2 separate regions of the Homo sapiens genome follow, and region 1 is linked to region 2. Evidence: promoter capture Hi-C in 16 types of primary human blood cells and fetal thymus (Javierre and others, 2016). All regions are on one chromosome and are shown on one strand. Each heading gives the region's core, a stretch centred on a gene start or on the middle of the fragment in contact. The rest is flanking DNA. Distances are from core to core; before and after follow the strand shown.

Region 1 (4,219 bases), core at 675-3,174, 2.3 Mb after region 2:
ATTAACTTCAATAGGAGAGAGGAAATTGCCTGAGCTAAGCTTTGAAAAAGAGGGAGAAAAACCAGCAAAAATAGTGGCAGTTGAGCAAATTTACCAGGCAAGGCAAACTGTACACAAAAAGTGTAGATGCCTGAAATAGAATGGTACGTTCAGGGAAGTTCCAGAGAATTGCATAGGTTGCCGAATGAACTTGAGGGAATGGAATATGAGGCATAGGAGATGGTGGAGAAACTGGGAAAGGTCCAACTACAGAACATACACATTTTGCTAAGAATTATCCTTAGTCCTCTCCCTCTCCCTCTCCCCTCTTCCCTCTCCCCTCTCCCCACGGTCTCCCTCTCCCTCTCTTTCCACGGTCTCCCTCTGATGCCGGTCTCCCTCTGATGCCGAGCCGAAGCTGGACTGTACCGCTGCCATCTCGGCTCACTGCAACCTCCCTGCCTGATTCTCCTGCCTCAGCCTGCCGAGTGCCTGCGATTGCAGGTGCGCGCCGCCACGCCTGACTGGTTTTCGTATTTTTTTGGTGGAGACGGGGTTTCGCTGTGTTGGCCGGGCTGGTCTCCAGCTCCTAACCACGAGTGATCCGCCAGCCTTGGCCTCCGGAGGTGCCGGGATTGCAGACGGAGTCTCGTTCACTCAGTGCTCAATGGTGCCCAGGCTGGAGTGCAGTGGCGTGATCTCGGCCCGCTACAACCTCCACCTCCCAGCCGCCTGCCTTGGCCTCCCAAAGTGCTGAGATTGCAGCCTCTGCCCGGCCGCCACCCCGTCTGGGAAGTGAGGAGCATCTGTGCCTGGCCGCCCATCGTCTGGGATGTGAGGAGCCCCTCTGCCTGGCTGCCCAGTCTGGAAAGTGAGGAGCGTCTCTGCCCGGCCACCATCCCATCTAGGAAGTGAGGAGCGCCTCTTCCCGGCCGCCATCCCATCTAGGAAGTGAGGAGCGTCTCTGCCCGGCCACCCATCGTCTGAGATGTGGGGAGCGCCTCTGCTCTGCCGCCCCGTCCGGGATGTGAGGAGCGTCTCTGCCCGGCCGCCCCATCTGAGAAGTGAGGAGACCCTCTGCCTGGCAACCGCCCAGTCTGAGAAGTGAGGAGCCCCTCAGCCCAGCAGCCGCCCCGTCTGAGAAGTGAGGAGCCCCTCCGCCCGGCAGCCACCCCGTCTGGGAAGTGAGGAGCGTCTCCACCCGGCAGCCACCCCATCCGGGAGGGAGGTGGGGGGGTCAGTCCCCCGCCCGGCCAGCTGCCCCGTCTGGGAGGTGAGGGGCGCCTCTGCCCGGCCGCCCCTACTGGGAAGTGAGGAGCCCCTCTGCCCGGCCACCATCCCATCTGGGAGGTGTACCCAACAGCTCATTGAGAACAGGCCATGATGACAATGGCGGTTTTGTGGAATAGAAAGCGGGGAAAGGTGGGGAAAAGATTGAGAAATCGGATGGTTGCCGTGTCTGTGTAGAAAGAGGTAGACATGGGAGACTTTTCATTTTGTTCTGTACTAAGAAAAATTCTTCTGCCTTGGGATCCTGTTGATCTGTGACCTTACCCCCAACCCTGTGCTCTCTGAAACCTGCTGTATCCACTCAGGGTTGAATGGATTAAGGGCGGTGCAAGATGTGCTTTGTTAAACAGATGCTTGAAGGCAGCATGCTCGTTAAGAGTCATCACCACTCCCTAATCTCAAGTACCCAGGGACACAAACACTGCAGAAGGCCGCAGGGTCCTCTGCCTAGGAAAACCAGAGACCTTTGTTCACTTGTTTATCTGCTGACCAGATAAACAAGTTTATTATGCTGCTCCACTATTGTCCTGTGACCCTGCCAAATCCCCCTCTGCGAGAAACACCCAAGAATGATCAATAATAAATAAATAAATAAATAAATAAATAAATAAATAAATAAAAAGAATTATCCTTAGAATCAAAGAGGAGCCAATGAACTGGTCTAAGTTGGGAGGAATCACTGACCACATCTAGTTAGACAATAACCCTGGCAGTGGACAGACTGGAGGCACCAGGAACAGAGGCAGGGTGACCACTTATGAAAAACAACTGGGTGTGAACTTTCATGGTGGCATGGGAATACACAGAAGAAGCAAGGCATGTTTGAGAGCATCTGTAACTGGATGGGAAGCTAGGGGTAGTAAGAGAGGATCAGGGCTTTCAGAGTAAGAGTTACCACTTCCTGAGCACCTAATGTGTGATAGGGATATGTGAAGAGTCCTTTACAAACATTACCTCCTTAGGTTTATCACCCTCATCTTACAGATGAGGAAACAGAGACCCAGAAAGATTCACTAGCTTAGGAATATGCAGCTGGTAAATTGTGGAGCCGGAATTCAAATCTAGGTAAGATTGACTCCCAACTTATACTGAACCTAGTGTGGGTCAGGCTAATTATCATTTCACCCGTTTTATTGATTCCAAGGATGCCAATATCAACAACCATGAAAAAGGATTCACAAGGAAGGGCAGATTAATGGAGTTGGTTCCTGCAGAAGGGAAGCGGTAAAGTGAAAGATAAGCTCATTCTGAGATGTCAGAGTTTGAGTTTCTTCTGAGAGAGCTAAGTGGTGGTTCCTAAAAAGCAGATACATAGTGATCACATCATAGAACACAGGAGAAAATAAGTAGGTAGAAGACATTTCAGGAAAAAATCTGTGTGGCAGACAGAGGAAATGAAACTTAATCTGATGGGGAAAGGGGGCAAGGAAGCTCACTTTACTGAATACTTAGAATATGCTAGGCTTTGCACTTTACGTATTATCTTTCTTAAATGCCATAGAATTGTTATTTCCACTTTAGAGATGAGGAACTGAGTGCTTGTTATGAAGCTGAGTGACTTTTTGGGATTGCACAGCCAGCAAGGGGGAGACAGAATTTAAAATCAGAGTCTGATTCCAGAACCTCCACCTAGTACTTTGCTATCTCGCCTCTAAATTAGACAGAGGCCCTTTTCTTCACATCCTTCCCATTCTGGAATTTGACACTGTTGATCATTACCACACTTCAAAGTCTCGGATTTATTCACAGCATATCTTCCCAGTTCCTTTTCAGTCTCTTTTCTTAATTTCTGTCTAGTCTCTTTCTCTCAATCTCTCTCTTTTTCTTCAAGGCTTTCAATGCAAAAAAACTGTTTTATTTTCATCTTCAATTCTGACTGGCAACCCCATATTTCTAATTGTTTTCTGGAATGTTAAGTCTTGGAGATTATATGCTCATGGCAAACTAAACACTTTCACACAGGTGTTCTCTGCAAACATTCCTGGTTCTCAAATAACCCAGATAGTGACCTCAATCCTTACTTCCTACTTGCAGGTACCAAATCTAGGAAATTTTCCCACTTGGAATCTCTCATATCTTTTTCCTGTTAGCACCAGTGGCACCCTGGCTGAGGTCCTGCTGCCCTGTTGTCTACATTATACCTTCCCTAAAATACCACACCAGCTGCCTAAAAACCTTATGTTATGCTTTTATTGGGTCCTTTCCCTCCTGAAGAAACTTCAGTGCTTCCAAATATCTATAGACTTCATCTTATCTCCTAGTATTTCCCATTTGAAAATCTCCAAATGTACCAATCTTCTCACTGCTCTCCAAAATATCCCACAGTCTCACATTCACATCTATGCACTTAGAAATGATTTCTTTTCCCATCCTTTTCAAATCGTGTTCACCATCATCTGAGATCATAGCAACCTCCATCTCTTCCATCAACCTCCCCTGTGCAACTCTTTCCCACATTCTCTCTTCTTAGAAGTTATTTAATTGAATATTACCTTACATTGTTACATAGTTTGGAAGATTACCTTACCTCTTAAGATATGGAAGCTTTCACAAAAAAAACATACAGATTTTTTTACTTTTCCACCATCCCTAAGTGCCCAACACAGTGCTGTGCACATAGGAGGCACCCAATAAAATACCTGGGGAGACTGTTTTAAAGATATGAAGTTTTAAACACAGCCCTCTAGCTGTTACGAAATTCTTGTTCCAGGCAATCTGCATTCCATTATTATTATAAATCATCTGTGTGCCTAAGTCATTTCTAATCTAAAAATGATCTGTTTTTAACATCGTTCCTTCTTAGGAAATATATACTGAGGTATTTAGGGGAAAGGACATAATGTCTATAGCTTAATCTCAAATGGTACAGGAAGAAATTGAGAGCAAGCAAAAGATGGAATGATGAATCAAATATGGAAAATGTTAATTGGTGGATCTGAATAAAAGTTAT
Region 2 (2,878 bases), core at 1-2,500:
TCATTTAAAAAGTATGAAATTAATGTTTGACTTCACAAAGGAGAGAACTTACCATATCCGGAGCCACCCTAAAAACAGAAAGAAAAAAATAGAAAATTACTTTGCCGTTGTAATTACTACCGGTACTTTAAAAAAATTCATTTAATAAAATGGAGTCTTGCTATGTTGCCCAGGCTGGTCTCAAACTCTCGGGCTCAAGTGATCCTCCTGCCTCAGACTCTTTTGTAGTTGGGATTATGAGTGAGCACCACTGCACCCAGCTTCACTATTCAAGTATTTTAATCTCATAAAATCCCTCTTCAGGAAACCAAAGTCCTCCTGTATCCTATTTTCAGTAAGTATCCTCAGGGGAATAAAAAACTTACTGGAGAGCAGGTAAGCATCTTAAATTATCACTGATATACACACGAACAACTATGATACTCAACCTGTGGTTCATAAGCCATCTGCCATTCTGATGGGCTCCATGTATCTATTGCAGAGTCCCAAGTTTCATCAGCACTGAAACCAACCTGTTAGAGATAAAAACATTAACATGAACCCGCATTGTATTTTGTTATAGAGCTGTTTTTAATATGCCTAATTTGCATGTTACATTAAAACAAAAGAGGGTACATATATAGGCAGCAATTTTGTAATCGAGGGGAACAAAGCTCAATAAAGTCGTAATCCTCCAGCAGCAAATAACAGAATTATTTAACTAGTAATCCAAACAAAATTTACTTGTAAGAAAAACTTTTTAATCACTATAACCTTCAACAAAACGTGAACTACATTGTGACAACCCTCACATACCCAACACACTGGTAATAAACCAAAGTTCTTACCATGCCGTCGTAACGGTCTCCAGGTCTCCCTCTTCTGTCATAGGCCATGAGGTCTCTGCAAGCATAGTACTTGTTGTAATCTAAACGTGCTTACATGCCACACATATCAAATCAAAGTCTACCTTGTCTACCACTAAGTGCAGCCTCTTGCAGGTTAATAATTCATAGATGGGGGAAGAAAAAACAACAACAACAAAAAAAACAACTTACCCCCCTCTAGGTGGTGGTGGTGGAGGAAGAGGAAGATTCCGAGCTCTGCTACCACCCCGGCCGCCTCGTCCGGGAGGAGGGGGAGGTGGTCCTCGACGAGGGCTCATATCATCATAATCTCTTCTAGATGGAGGCATGGGACGCCCACCCCGACCAGGAGGCATTCTGTCAAAACCACCTCTTCCCCGCATGGGAAATCCCACTGGGCGTCCGCGACGGTCATCAAACATCATTGTAAAACCACCATAATCATAGGTTTCATCGTAAAAATTGGGATCATAAGGCTGTGCACGTCCTTTGATGGGAGACTAAAAACAGAGATGGAACAAACTTACAGACTGAAGAAAAAGAGTCCTGCTTCATACCAATCCTTCTAACATCATCATCAAACAAAATGTAAGTCATTCCCCCATCAGGAGGTACTAGAGACAGAAACAGGAATTATGTCAACGCTAAAAGTAGCAAAGTAAAGATTCCAAAGAAATCCAATACTTTTGGCAAATGCTAAACAAAAGTGAGTTCTATTGCCTATACAGGGAGAAGTAATAGCTTGCTCTTACACTTAGATCGTAAGAAACCACAAAGCCCTCCCATTTTACACATGACAAACTACAATGCACATTTCACAACAAGGGCTGAAGAGATCAGTCTTGGCAAGCCTGTAATCCATACTGAGGCACCTGAGATAGGAAGCCCTGCAGCATAGTTACAAAGACACAAGCAACACTATAGGAAATTCATTCAAAGGCTCAAAGGCTATAGAAATACCACCAACAAATTACCACTCTCCACTTTTTCAAAACCATTTTTAAATTAAAGTGATGGCTGAAGCCAGGTGATAGAAAATTGCTAGGGAAAGGGCAAATAAAGACTATTAGACTAAATGCTCTGAAGCTACTTTTGCAGAAGGTTATCACTTTGTTTCATAAAATCAAATGTAAACAAAAAGTGTTCTGAAGTACCTCAGATATAAGATCAAGGATGATCTTTATGCACTCTACAACCCTATCGGGTTTTCCTCCAATAAGAACAACTCTGTCAGTGGAATGAGGACAGCATTCCTGGAAAAGCTTGATGGTGGTTTGAGTGTTCTGTAGTAAGATCATAAAAAAAAATAATAATAATTAGAAGAAAATTAGCTTTCCTAGGTTCAGTGAAAATTGCATTTGAATTCAACAATTAACCCCCCACAATATAAAAACTTCATTAATTATCACAGGGCTTTGCAATGGTATAAAAATTTTGACAAAATAACATGTCTAGCAGTGCCAGACATTTTTTGTCATTTGCGATAAGCAATCTTTGGAGGGAACTGAGAGGGGAAGCGAGAGAAGCTCACAGAAACAAGTCTATATGAAAATTTACTTTCCAGCAAAGAATACGGCAGAATTTTTTTTTTTTTACCTCTCGAAGTTCTTTGATTTTAGCACCTTTGACCCCAATAATTCCTCCTGCTAGACTCTGATGAATCAACAGCCTCAACTCGCAGTCAAAGTCACTTCCTTTATAGTGTTGGTACTGTGGAGGGAGAATTATAAAATTTTAGTCTCAAATCAACAATTCCCCAATACACACTTATCTGCTATAAGCATAACAATAATATACTGTTGCAGTGAGCAACCTGAATTTATATTTCAATAACTTTACCAGTTATGTGCTTATTATCCTCAATAGCCAGGCCCAAAAAGGACATTCTGCACCACCTTAAAAAACTATTTTATTTTCAGGTCCTGCAACACCATACCCACACTGCAGCCATTTAGCATGTCGCTGTTACCACAAAATTATTATTAACATTCAAATAACACCATAATAAAAATGACTGCAAAGCACTTTGCAAA

What was found. Contacts are between HindIII fragments. The CHiCAGO score rates a contact against its expected background, and 5 or more counts as called.
Region 1: a fragment that was not itself captured here is called in contact with the fragment with the promoter of HNRNPK-AS1 in region 2 in 1 of 17 cell types (total CD8 T cells); the score reaches 5.3 in total CD8 T cells.

Annotation. Positions count from the first base shown.
Region 1 is chr9:86,311,280-86,315,498 of GRCh38, forward strand. All of the region lies in intron 17 of TUT7 (terminal uridylyl transferase 7), which reads right to left. Among named protein-coding and RNA genes, the nearest start is that of ISCA1, 31 kb to the left of the region's middle. RefSeq lists an enhancer at 1,061-1,898. The HindIII fragment of the contact is 3,774 bases long and covers 38-3,811 here.
Region 2 is chr9:83,970,845-83,973,722 of GRCh38, forward strand. It overlaps HNRNPK-AS1 (HNRNPK antisense RNA 1), which reads left to right and starts at 1,251. Exons shown (of 2, transcript NR_186535.1): 1 at 1,251-1,433. HNRNPK (heterogeneous nuclear ribonucleoprotein K) reads right to left here. Exons shown (of 17, transcript NM_031263.4): 9 at 2,442-2,555; 10 at 2,000-2,128; 11 at 1,038-1,345; 12 at 828-882; 13 at 429-512; 14 at 53-68. The HindIII fragment of the contact is 2,844 bases long and covers 1-2,105 here.